Linked DNA regions of Homo sapiens: all the other regions are linked to region 3. Evidence: promoter capture Hi-C in 16 types of primary human blood cells and fetal thymus (Javierre and others, 2016). All regions are on one chromosome and are shown on one strand. The core of a region is centred on a gene start or on the middle of the fragment in contact, and the rest is flanking DNA. Distances in the headings are between cores, read along the strand shown.

Region 1 (4,056 bases), core at 355-2,854, 770 kb before region 3:
TGAATTTAGTGACATTAAGAAGATATATATATATATATATATATATATATATATAATATAAATATATGTGTATACACACCGCGCGGGCGCGCGCAGAGCTTCCAATCTTTATCTTGTTAATTAGTATTTTCATTGTCGCTTTGGGAGGGGGGAAAGTAGCAGGTTTGTATCTTTTTTTCTCCCCAGTTTTAGCAGTGTAACAAAATAGGAAAGATGGTGTGTAAAATTGAGTTTGTCATAGACTAGGAGAGACAGTGAAACAGGATAAGTATACAATTGTGAGGAAACTGCCATGAGTTCATAAGCCGGAAGGACCTTTTTAGAAGTGTTTAAGGATGTTAAGAATAGCATTGGATTCTTTTCTTTAAAAGTCATTCAAGTATCGTTTGCTAACATATAGGATATGACAATATTGACCACTCCTAGGAAGATACTTGGGAAAGGTGGAAACATTTTACATTTTTATGGGGACTTCCCCCCACAAAAAACATTTAATGGAGATTTAAACAAAGTGGCTTTTTGACTTAAGCCTGGAAGTTCTTTATTATTATTAGTCATGCTGCAAATCCCGAAGTTATTTTAATTGTGTGATAATTTGTAACCCAGAATGAAATCTAATAAATAGTTTATTAATATAATTTAAGTCATACTTTGACATTGACATATTGCTTGATGTCAAGTCATTATTGTTTAAATAACTTATTTGAGAATGGGGAAGATAGTTTTCTGAATATAGTGTAGTAATTATTTGTGACAATAGTAACATTGCTTTTATTAGAAAATTTTGGGTTGATATAACTAACTGCCTTAAAGTATTTCCTATTTGATTCCAACTGTGAGCTGAGGTAATATGCAAATAATTACTTTTCTCATGCTGGAGCAGTTTACTTTTGTTAATATTAAAATTTAAATTTCAAGATTAAAAAATCTTGTTTTAGATCTGCAATGATACAATAAAATGACTTCAATAGGAGTTAAATATTAAGATTTGGTTTTAGGTTTTTTGACCATTTGTGAGTACACATCCAGCATTTAAGAATTTATTGACATGGTGTCTGAAAGGAATGCTTTCAGAAAGGGCAGAAAACTTGGTAGCTTTAGATGATTGTTTATAATGCTTAATTATTTTTAGAAACATAAAAATATGGGATGTTTTTATGTAAACATAAAGCATCCTGTTATTTGTTATAGCACTAGAACTCTCTTACACTTACTGAGCAATATTAAACCATTTGACCCTAAGTAACTTTTTTTCTTGTGGGTACTGTCTAATAAGGGATATGTGAGTTTGTGATTCCTAGAAGATGCTTAAGCAAACATATGTTTGCTATTTATTTTAGTAAGCCTTTTAATTAGTTGAATTGATAATATTCAGGAAGATAGGGTTTTTGGGATTTTATAAGCTTTCTTTGAACTGGAATTTCTGTTGGATATAAAAGAAAATTAGTCATTTAAGATTTTTTTAAGTTAAATAAGTTTTAGAGCAAAATATTGTTTCCTACATGGAACTCTTACCAGGCTTGTCAGTCTGATAGCTTTATTCTCCAGAAAGTTGTGGTTTTTAGCCCTTTAGGCAGCCTAGCCTTTTATGGTTTAACCATTGAACTCTAGATTCTGGATTGAATTTAACCTCTTGAAGGAAAAGACGATCACAGGCACTAGAATTGGAAGTGATGTCAGAGGGCTTCTAATGTAGCATCTTACCCGGTACAGTAAATCCCTCCTGAGAATTTCCATGTCAGGTGTTCCCTCCCATTATTAAGGATGAGAATGCTATTGCATATGTCATCAGGTTATTCAGCAGTCCAAGCTTACTGAGAACAAACACAAGAGTTTTAATGAGTTTTAATTTTCACTATTCACTGCCTTTAACTGTATTTTGTAGGCTCTTTCCCACCCCCCTGTCCCCCACCCCCCATAACATCATGGGTAAATGATAGCTTTTCTGTCATTTACAGTTATCAAAAAGCTCTAGGCTGGGCTCAGTGGCTCATGCCTGTAATCCCAGCACTTCAGAAAGCCGAGGTGGGAGGATAGCTTGAGCCCAGGAGTTTGAGACCAGCCTGGGCAACATGACGAAACCTTGTCTCTACAGAAAATAGAAAAATCAGCCGGGCGTGGTGGCATGTGCCTGTAGTCCCAGCTAGTTGGGAGGCTGTTGTAGGAGGATCCCTTGAGCCTGGGAGGCAGAGGTTCCAGTGAACAGAGACTGTGCTGTGGCACTCCAGCCTGGGTGACAGGAGAGTGAGACCCTGTCTCCAAAAAAAAAAAAAAAACAGAAAAACAAAAACAAAAAATTGCAGTCTATTCCAGTTTGAACATTCAATCTCATATATATTCAATTTAAAGGTTTTTTTTCCCTTCCTTACCCTGTGGTCAGGCCACTTACTTACTGAAGCACTTGGGGTATGGACGGCTTGTGGTAAGCTCCTGGGATACTTCTTTCCTTTCCCTCTTAAGGGATCTATTTGGATACAAATGTGTCAAGAAGAGAAGTAGAAAAAGACAAGTGTTTGTTATCTGGTGCTATTAGAGTCCTCTCTTGATTAACAGTGGCAGGCCATTGCAGTCTACTAATAGGCAACCAAACTGGCATTTTTGGTGAGATCTTGCAGGGAGACTCCTGCTGCACAGTTTCTGGGTATGAAATTTTCTGTAGCTAAACCTTTTCCAACCTACACACCCATCTGCTTGCTCCCATCCTGTCAGTTTACCCACTGGTTACGTGAATGTGTGTGAGTCGGGGTGGAGATCTTTTCTCTCTGCAGCGAGATATTTTGATAATGGCAAAACAACTTCAATCCAGGTACGCTGTGGTTTCTATTCAACCCACTGGAAACTCACTTCCTTGTGATGTCGAATAGTGGCATACAGACTACTTAAGTCTGCCTTCTTTCTGTGCCCTGCCATTTCTCATCAATTCTCTTTGTCCCCCTTTTCAAGTAGACACATGGGGTCAGTCACTCAGTCTGCTGCATAAGCAGATGTGGAACTGGAGAATGGGATGCAAGTCTGTTCTAGGCTCCTCTGATCTTCATGAGTGATTTCTGTTAGAGGCCCCTGCCACTGTTTTGGTGAAGACCTCCTTCTTTTCCCTGCGTTCTCCCTGAAGACTTACAGTTCTTTCCCTCTCTTCTGTCAACTGCTCTTGCAGAGTGGAAGGATGGTGCTGATTAGGGTGCCAGAGCCATGCCTGACTCTACAGATATTTGATCCTCTATGTCTATATATCCTCAGCTTTGTGTTTGTCAGTGATTGTGGGGCAACAGGACTAGTCCCACTCGACATGTTTTAACAAATAATAGTGAAGTCTTGTGGGCCTGTTGAGGTCTCACTGTACAGAATTTAATTTTTCTTTGCTTTTTCTTATATCACTCAGGCTGTTTCTGTGTTTTGCCTTATTTTTTGGCTTCCTGGTTCCTGACTGATGAGGTGTTAACTGTAATTATGTTAATTTATGACTGATTTGTAAGATCTAACTATACCTTAGAGTATGAGTAAAGCTGAAGGAGAAATTTGGGTTGGGAGGCATGTTAATAATATAATTGTGTCTGGTTTTGCCTCATGTAAGTTTCACTAAAAATATAAATTTAAGTGGAAATACAGTATTTGAAACTTTTTCCTTCCATTATTTAAATAAATCAGTTAAATCTGGTAAATGATTCTTGTCTGATGAGGAAGAAACAACTTTCTATCTGGAAACTTAACGTTAATCTTTGATGCAGTAATTATGGGTTACTTCATCCGTCGTTCAACAAATAGTTACTGAGGGTCTTGCATGTGACAGCCACTGTGTTAGGCATTGGAGAAACAACAGTAAATAACAAATCCCTGCTGTCATGGAGCCTACATTACAGTGTGGGGAAACAGACAAGAATCAGGTAAATAAGTAAACTGTATCATTCATTAGATAATCAATAAATGCTAAGGAGAAGAATAACATGGGGAACCAAGGTGGAAGTAGCAAAACGGTTTGGAGGATTTGCAATTTTAGATAAGATCTAAAAGGCAGTGTTCACTGAGAACGTGACTTTGAGTTACAAGTCCCCGAGTGGG
Region 2 (3,599 bases), core at 748-3,247, 730 kb before region 3:
TTAAAAATGTATAATTTAAATACAGACTATGTGCTAAACAGTCTACAGATAGAAATAATGATTAACTGAGTACCTTATTTACTGAATAGATCACATAAGAAAAGCAAAAATATATGTTAAAAATTTATGATACCTCTGATTCTTTCATCCACTTTAGTGAGGTGTTAATGTGAGATTCTGCTGTTACCACAGTCATTGTTTTCCTGTACTTGTGAACGATTTATCATTGATCCAAGTATTGGAATTCCTTCTTTAAATTTCTAATGAAAAGTTTTGTTTTGAAACTTCTGATTTGTTTTAAGAATTTTGCTATTCTTTTTTCTGCTGACTTTGGATTCATCCATTGAGTCTTTCAACATTTATTGAATACACTATGGTTTTGGTAATAGTCTCTGTCTTGAAGCCAGGAAAGACTGAATATGCCACAATCCCAGAATCATGGGTAGGAATGGAGAAAGGGAAGAAAACAGCAAAGAGCTGTAAGCCAATAGTAAGTGTGCCAATAAACAGGGTCTAGAGCACAGCAGTTGGGCTTGGAAGAGTTACACACACTTGGCTAGAATGTATTATAGTCAGGATCTGAATCTATATTCCCTAATGCCCCTGAGCCTATTTCCTTACCTCTTAGGTGGGGGTAGAGCCCCTATGCATAGGGTAGACAGGAGTAGTAAAGGAGAAAAATGTGTGAACTAGTACCTGCCCGAGTAAGCACTCATTACGTGATAGCTATATTATAAAATATTATTCTAACAGAAAAATTAGTGTGATAACTTAAGGAGTACATACATGGACTATAATTTTTATATGTATCTGTCAACCGTATGCAAACGGATGAATAATTAGAAATTCTGCGAGAAAACAGGTTCACATGTATAATGCTGGTTGCAAAATGATTCATTTTATTTACTATTTCAGGTACCAAAGCAGTCAGACTCACAGCCTAATTCTGATAACCTAAGTCGCCATGGTGAATGTGGGAAAAAGCAAGTGTCTTACAGAACTGATATTGTTGGTGGCGTACCCATCATTACTCCCACTCAGGTAATTAAGTAACTCTTCTATTGTGTGAGGGTCTAATTATTGTATATTGATTTTTATATTATTAAAACTAAAACAGTGCATCTTTGCTTAATTGGTATAATATACAATTACTATAAAATATTTTTGTTTATTTCAAAAGTATTTATTATAAAAAATTTGGAAATTACATAACATTTAAAACTTCTCATGATTTCTCTGAGCCTTTCTTCATGTACTTTTCACCTCAGAAATGGAGATATGAGTTGTATATTACATTTTGTAAACAGATTTTTTCACTTGTATCATGAACATTTTCCAAGTCATCAGAAATCCTTTTATATCATTTTTAATGAGTGCATAGTAGTTCTTCCATGGATTTACCATAAATTACAAATCCTCTATTGGACAAATAGAGTTCCTTTTCCTTTTTGTTTCTTTTACTTTATAAACAATGCTATGATGAATATTCTTAAAGGAGAAATTCCTAGAAATAAAATTGCTGAGTCAAGAGTTTGCAAGTAGTAATTTTTAAAATCTATTTTTTCTACAACCTGGCCTAAGTGAGCTAAACAGAAGACTGGAATTTTAACTAAGTTATATCTCAGAAGTACTAATATGCTAAATTAAGTCTTTATTTGAGTTTTAGGAAAAATATAAATTTACATACAATTTTTGATGAAATTAAAACTCTTGTCTGAGCTTGAATTTCTTGTTTTGCTATTGAAAAGGATGAATTTGTAATGGATATTAAGTTACTAGTAGTTGAGAAACCAAGAATTTTAAAGTAATCAATTGGTATTGCCAAGCTTGGGTATTTTCATTACCAGTGTGCCTTTTGAACTCAAAAGACTTTGACACTTTATAAATCTTTTAAATCAAATTGTATCATTCCCCACATTTTTCAGGTCTTTTGCTACGGGAGGGTGATTAGTGGGATTAGAAATCTTACAACATTAATTAATTAATTAACTATTGAGTGCTTTCTTTATGCTTGGCAAAGGGTATGTTAATGAACAGAAATTCCCTGCTGTCATAGAGCATACATTTTCCACCAAAGTTGGATAAAAAAATAAGCTAGGATTGTGTGTTTACTTTTTCCAAAAGTAATGATTTTAAACTGTTAACCTTCTGGTTACTATGTACCTAGATTAAGCTTCTTTCACTGGTATTATGACCTATGTTGACATAAGGGGTAAGACTATTTTCCTGTAGTTGTGTTAAGACACTGTATTAGTTTGTATCTGTGGCTGTTTTAATTTTGTCTAGAGTTAAGATTTTGTTGCATTGTAATTTTGGTATAGATATTTCAGTAGTTTCTAGGATTTTATGGAGGGTATAATTTTATTGCATCATTTATTTTGTAGTATAGTTTTAAAAATTATAAAATAATATATGTCTATCATAAAAGGCAAAAATTGGTAAATTGGACCTCATCAAAATAAAAAATACTTGCTCTATGAAAGACCTTCTTAAGAGGATGAAAAGAAAAGCTACAAACTGGGAGAAAATATTTGCAAACCACATGTCCAACAAAGGACTTTTATCTAGAACATAGAAAGAACTCAGAACCCAACAGTAAAAAGCCCAAGAAATCCAATTAGAAAATTCATGAACAGATATTTCATCAAAAGATAAAAGATAAACAGATGGTAAGTAAGCACATGAAAAGATGTTCACCATCATTAGCTAGCAGGGAAAAAATACAAATTAAGAGCACAATAAAAGATCACTGCACACCTCTCAGAATGGCTGAAATAAAAGTGACGACACAAATGCTGCCAAGGTTGAGGAGAAACATAATCTCTCAGGTGTTGCTGGTGGGAATGAAAATTAGCCACTCTGAAAAACAGTTTAGTGTTTATGTTTTGTTTTTTTTTTAATAATAAAAGTAAGCTTGTGATTACTGTACAACCCAGCATTTGCAGGACTAGGTGTTTATCGTAGAGAAAGGGAAAATTACATTCACATAAAAACTTGTGCATGAATGTTGATAGCAGCTTTTTTCCTAATAGCTAAAAGTGGGAAACAACTCAAATGTCCTTTAATGGGTGAACAGTTAAACAACTGGTCATCCATCCATACCATGGAAATATAGCAATAAAAAGGAATGAACTCTAGATACAAGGAACAGTCTGGACGAATCTCTAGAGAATTATGCTGAGTGAAAAAAGATAATCTCAAAAGATAACCTTCTGTATGCTTCCATTTACATTACATTTTCAAAATGTCAAAATTATAGTCTTGGAGAACAGATTAGTGGCTGCCAGGGGATTTAGGGGTAGGAACTCTAAAGTTCACAAAGGAGCCTTGGGGTGATGACCAATTCTGGGTCTTAAATGTGGTAGTAGTTACACAGATCTACACATGTGATAAAACTGCATAGAACTGTATAGACACACATAGATGAATGTATGTAAAACTGGTGGAATCCGAATAAAGTTTGTGGGTTGTGCCAATGTCCATTTCTTGTTTTTTGATAATGTTACGCCGTTTCCCTTTGAGGGGAAACTAGTGAAAGGGTACATAGGACCTGTTGTACTTTTTTTGGGCAGCTTCTGGTGAATCCTTATAATTATTTC
Region 3 (3,600 bases), core at 12-2,511:
CCGCTTTGCTTGGCTGGGCTAATTCTAGCTCGGGTAACAGCTGATCTAGGAATTAAAGGGGCGAGAGCCAGGGCACAGAAGGGGGCTATGAGAACACAGAGGGAATCACTATTTACTGAGCACCACGGTGTGCCAGGCTCGGTGCTGGGTAGTTTGACCTCACAACAGCCTCTGCGAGGGAGGCACTGCTTCCTCCAATTTTAGGAATAAAGAAACCGAGCCTCAGAATTTCCAAATGTCTTCCCCCAAGATCACCCAGCCGAGAATTGAGTCGAGTCTGCTCAATTCTAAAACCGAGTCCTGTCACCAGTTCCTTATCTTCTTCCTGGGAGTAAGGCGTCTATTTCTGCAGCAGTTCGGAAACCTTCAAAATTTACAAAACAAAAACACAGATTCGCTTAAAACACGGGTGGGCCATGGGCTACCCGGCCAGGTTTATGGAGTACCTACTATGCGCTGCTAGTGCTTCGAGGCTTTTAATCCCTACCTGAGGCAATCCGAGAAGTTATTTTCAACTATGAGGGCAGAGAGGCTTTAATCGGCATGAGTTGTGCAAGTTCATGCAGTGTGTAAATAGTTGTGCCGGAATTTGAACCCAGATCTCTTGACTAGAGGTCTTAGGGCTTCCTCCCTCCCCCTAAAGATTCTGTAGGTCCGTAGAACCTGTGACAGGGATGAGGTCTGCAGACGGGGAAGGGGAATGTCTGCTCCCAAGGCTCCTGGCCATGCTGGAGAGGATGAGCGTCCGCCTGGAGACGCCTGCTCCTAACCCACCTCACCCCCACGCAGGGCGCCACGGTCCCAGGAGTGCCGGCTTTGCCCGCCCACTGGGGCTAGAAGGGGTGGAGGGCTGGGGGAGGATGGTGGAGCAGCCTGTACAAGCCCCTGGGAGGCGCGGAGACCCGTCGCCTGCGGAGGCGTCGAGCCACTCCAGCTCCGAGTCCCGCACCGCCCCTGCCTCTGGAGAGAAGGGTCCAAGGGGTCCAAGGAGTCGGAGTTGCCGCAGCCGCCAGGAACCCGGGCTAGAATCTGCAGCTGCTTTCAGCCCTGGCTGCCCCTGGTTAGACGCCGCTGATGCCCGCCAGGCCCTCGGCGCGCTCTGGGGGCGCACCGGTGCTGTGTGCCTGGCCGGAGCGTTTTGAAATTTTCCGGGGCCGCTCGGCGGCGCTGCGATTGGCCGCGTTCGGGTAACCTCTATGCAAATGAGGCCGCGCCGCCTCCGCGCCGCCGGAGACCCGGCGAGTTGGCGGGCGAGGAAGGGGCATTTGCACCGGGGCTGGGCGGGCGCACCCAGAGCCAGGCGGGCAGGAACCCCTGCGCAGCCATCCGGTGCCTGCATGTCCCTGGCGCGGAAGGGACGCCTCACCAGCCTCGGCGCCCCCTCCCCCTAGATTTCCTCCCCGCCCCTCCCCACTGCCTGCCTGCTGCACCACCTTCCACCCAGATCACCCAGATCGTCTCTAAAGGGAGTTCTTGGTTTCCTTCGATTTCTTATGAACCCAGGATGGGCAGCAAAGAAGATGCGGGCAAGGGGTGTCCGGCGGCCGGTGGCGTCTCCAGCTTCACCATCCAGTCCATCCTGGGCGGGGGCCCCTCGGAGGCACCGCGGGAGCCCGTCGGCTGGCCAGCCAGGAAGCGCAGCCTGTCCGTGTCCTCGGAGGAGGAGGAGCCGGACGACGGCTGGAAGGCGCCCGCCTGCTTCTGCCCAGACCAGCACGGCCCTAAGGAGCAGGGCCCCAAGCACCATCCCCCCATCCCTTTTCCTTGCCTGGGTAAGGATCGCACGTCGCCAGTGTGGCAGCGAGCGAGCGCGAGGGGAGGGAGGCTGAGCGCCCCGCCAAGACTCCCGCGCCGGGCCCCCTCTGGCCAGAGCTGCGGCAGCCGGGGGTTCGGGACCGCGGGGAGAGGGGCGCGCACTGTGGTGCCTCCTCCGCCCGGTGGGCCCCTGGGAGCAGGCGAACACAGACCCGTGCCGGCTTGGGCTTCCTGGGGAAGGTTGAGTTGTTGAGAGAGTGGACCACAGCGAGAGGGACACGCGGCCGGCCTTACACCCGGCTGTCCTCAATCACTGCACATCTGGTACTTTCTTTCCGGACACGAGGTGGAGATCTGCAAGTCGGGTCTGGGCAGTCTGTCTCCACCGTAATCTCTTTCTGAGTCTTCTTCCTCACTCGCTCCGTATCTCTGCCTTTCTCTCTCTCTCCTCCTTGGAATGATTAGCACTCCAAGATGATTGACAATGGTGCATTTCAGAGACGGTTCCTCTTTACAACATTTGACGAAGGGGAGTCCTGCGTTAGTCCTTAGCGTGATTTCCAAACAAACGGCCTGTGAAATGATGCCACCCTATAAAGCTCGAGGAACTCTTCCAGCTCAATTACCACCAAGCAAATTCGCCTTTTAAAACCATGCTAATGTTTCCCCCTCCAGACCTCCTCTCCCTGTTGCCCCTGGCCCATTCATAAAGGTGGGAGCACAGAGACCCCATACTCCAAGTAGCTGGGTCCCTCTCTTGTCGCTTTTAAAGGACGGGGTGCTGGGTTTGGGGGGCCAGTGAGAGGGATAAGAGGAGGGGATTGGTAAGGTGGGACCAAGGCTGCAGGCGCTTGCCAACCGCTTGGTCCCAGGGAGAGCTGGCGGTCTCCGAGGCTCCCCAACCAACTCCATGGCCTTTCTGTCTGTTCTCGCTCCTCAGGTACCCCCAAGGGCAGCGGAGGCTCGGGCCCGGGCGGCTTGGAGCGCACGCCTTTCCTCTCTCCTTCGCACTCGGACTTTAAAGAAGAGAAAGAGAGGCTCCTGCCCGCGGGCTCGCCCTCGCCGGGGTCCGAGCGGCCGCGGGACGGCGGCGCTGAGCGGCAGGCCGGCGCGGCCAAGAAGAAGACGCGCACCGTCTTTTCGCGCAGCCAGGTGTACCAGCTCGAGTCCACCTTCGACATGAAGCGCTACCTGAGCAGCTCGGAGCGCGCCTGCCTCGCCTCCAGCCTGCAGCTCACGGAGACCCAGGTAAAGACTTGGTTCCAGAACCGCCGCAACAAGTGGAAGCGGCAGCTCTCGGCTGAGCTGGAGGCGGCCAACATGGCGCACGCGTCGGCGCAGACTCTGGTGAGCATGCCGCTGGTGTTCCGGGACAGTTCGCTGCTGCGCGTGCCGGTGCCGCGCTCGCTCGCCTTTCCCGCGCCGCTCTACTACCCGGGAAGCAACCTCTCGGCCTTACCTCTCTACAACCTATACAACAAGCTCGACTACTGACCGGCCCGCCGCCCCGCGCCGCCCCCAGCTGCCCGCAGAGCCGGGCGCGTACTGTACTGTAAGCAGGGCTCCGGAGCAAGGCGGCGTGTTTCCAGAAATATGAAGAAATACACCATGTGTATTCATTAGCTCTTATTTATGGTCTCTGCCCTACTTTTTGTTTTGATTGTTTCGGGTATTTATTGGCATTCCCTAAGTCAGAGAGCCTGCTTCCTACCTAGACCGAACCAGTACGCTTTGAAAACCATTCGGAGTGAGATGTTCTCGGGTGGTGGTGGGAAAGGGAGTTTTGGCCAGACAGGCTGTGGTTGGTAGGGAAAAAAATCAGGAAAACACCTACAAAACCAGGTA

The links. Contacts are between HindIII fragments. The CHiCAGO score rates a contact against its expected background, and 5 or more counts as called.
Region 1: a contact is called between a fragment that was not itself captured here and the fragment with the promoter of HMX2 in region 3, in 1 of 17 cell types (naive CD4 T cells). The highest score is 5.6, in naive CD4 T cells.
Region 2: a contact is called between a fragment that was not itself captured here and the fragment with the promoter of HMX2 in region 3, in 1 of 17 cell types (total CD8 T cells). The highest score is 5.6, in total CD8 T cells.

What each region holds. Positions count from the first base shown.
Region 1 is chr10:122,376,480-122,380,535 of GRCh38, forward strand. The region is part of intron 1 of PLEKHA1 (pleckstrin homology domain containing A1); the gene reads left to right. Among named protein-coding and RNA genes, the nearest start is that of PLEKHA1, 3.8 kb to the left of the region's middle. The HindIII fragment of the contact is 407 bases long and covers 1,402-1,808 here.
Region 2 is chr10:122,412,005-122,415,603 of GRCh38, forward strand. It overlaps PLEKHA1 (pleckstrin homology domain containing A1), which reads left to right. Exons shown (of 12, transcript NM_001001974.4): 6 at 916-1,041. Among named protein-coding and RNA genes, the nearest start is that of MIR3941, 3.2 kb to the right of the region's middle. The HindIII fragment of the contact is 347 bases long and covers 1,825-2,171 here.
Region 3 is chr10:123,146,875-123,150,474 of GRCh38, forward strand. HMX2 (H6 family homeobox 2) reads left to right here and starts at 1,262. Exons shown (of 2, transcript NM_005519.2): 1 at 1,262-1,772; 2 at 2,696-3,600. The coding sequence starts at 1,505. The coding sequence ends at 3,249. RefSeq lists silencers at 1,132-1,451, 1,842-1,971, 3,079-3,373. The HindIII fragment of the contact is 9,748 bases long and covers 1-3,600 here.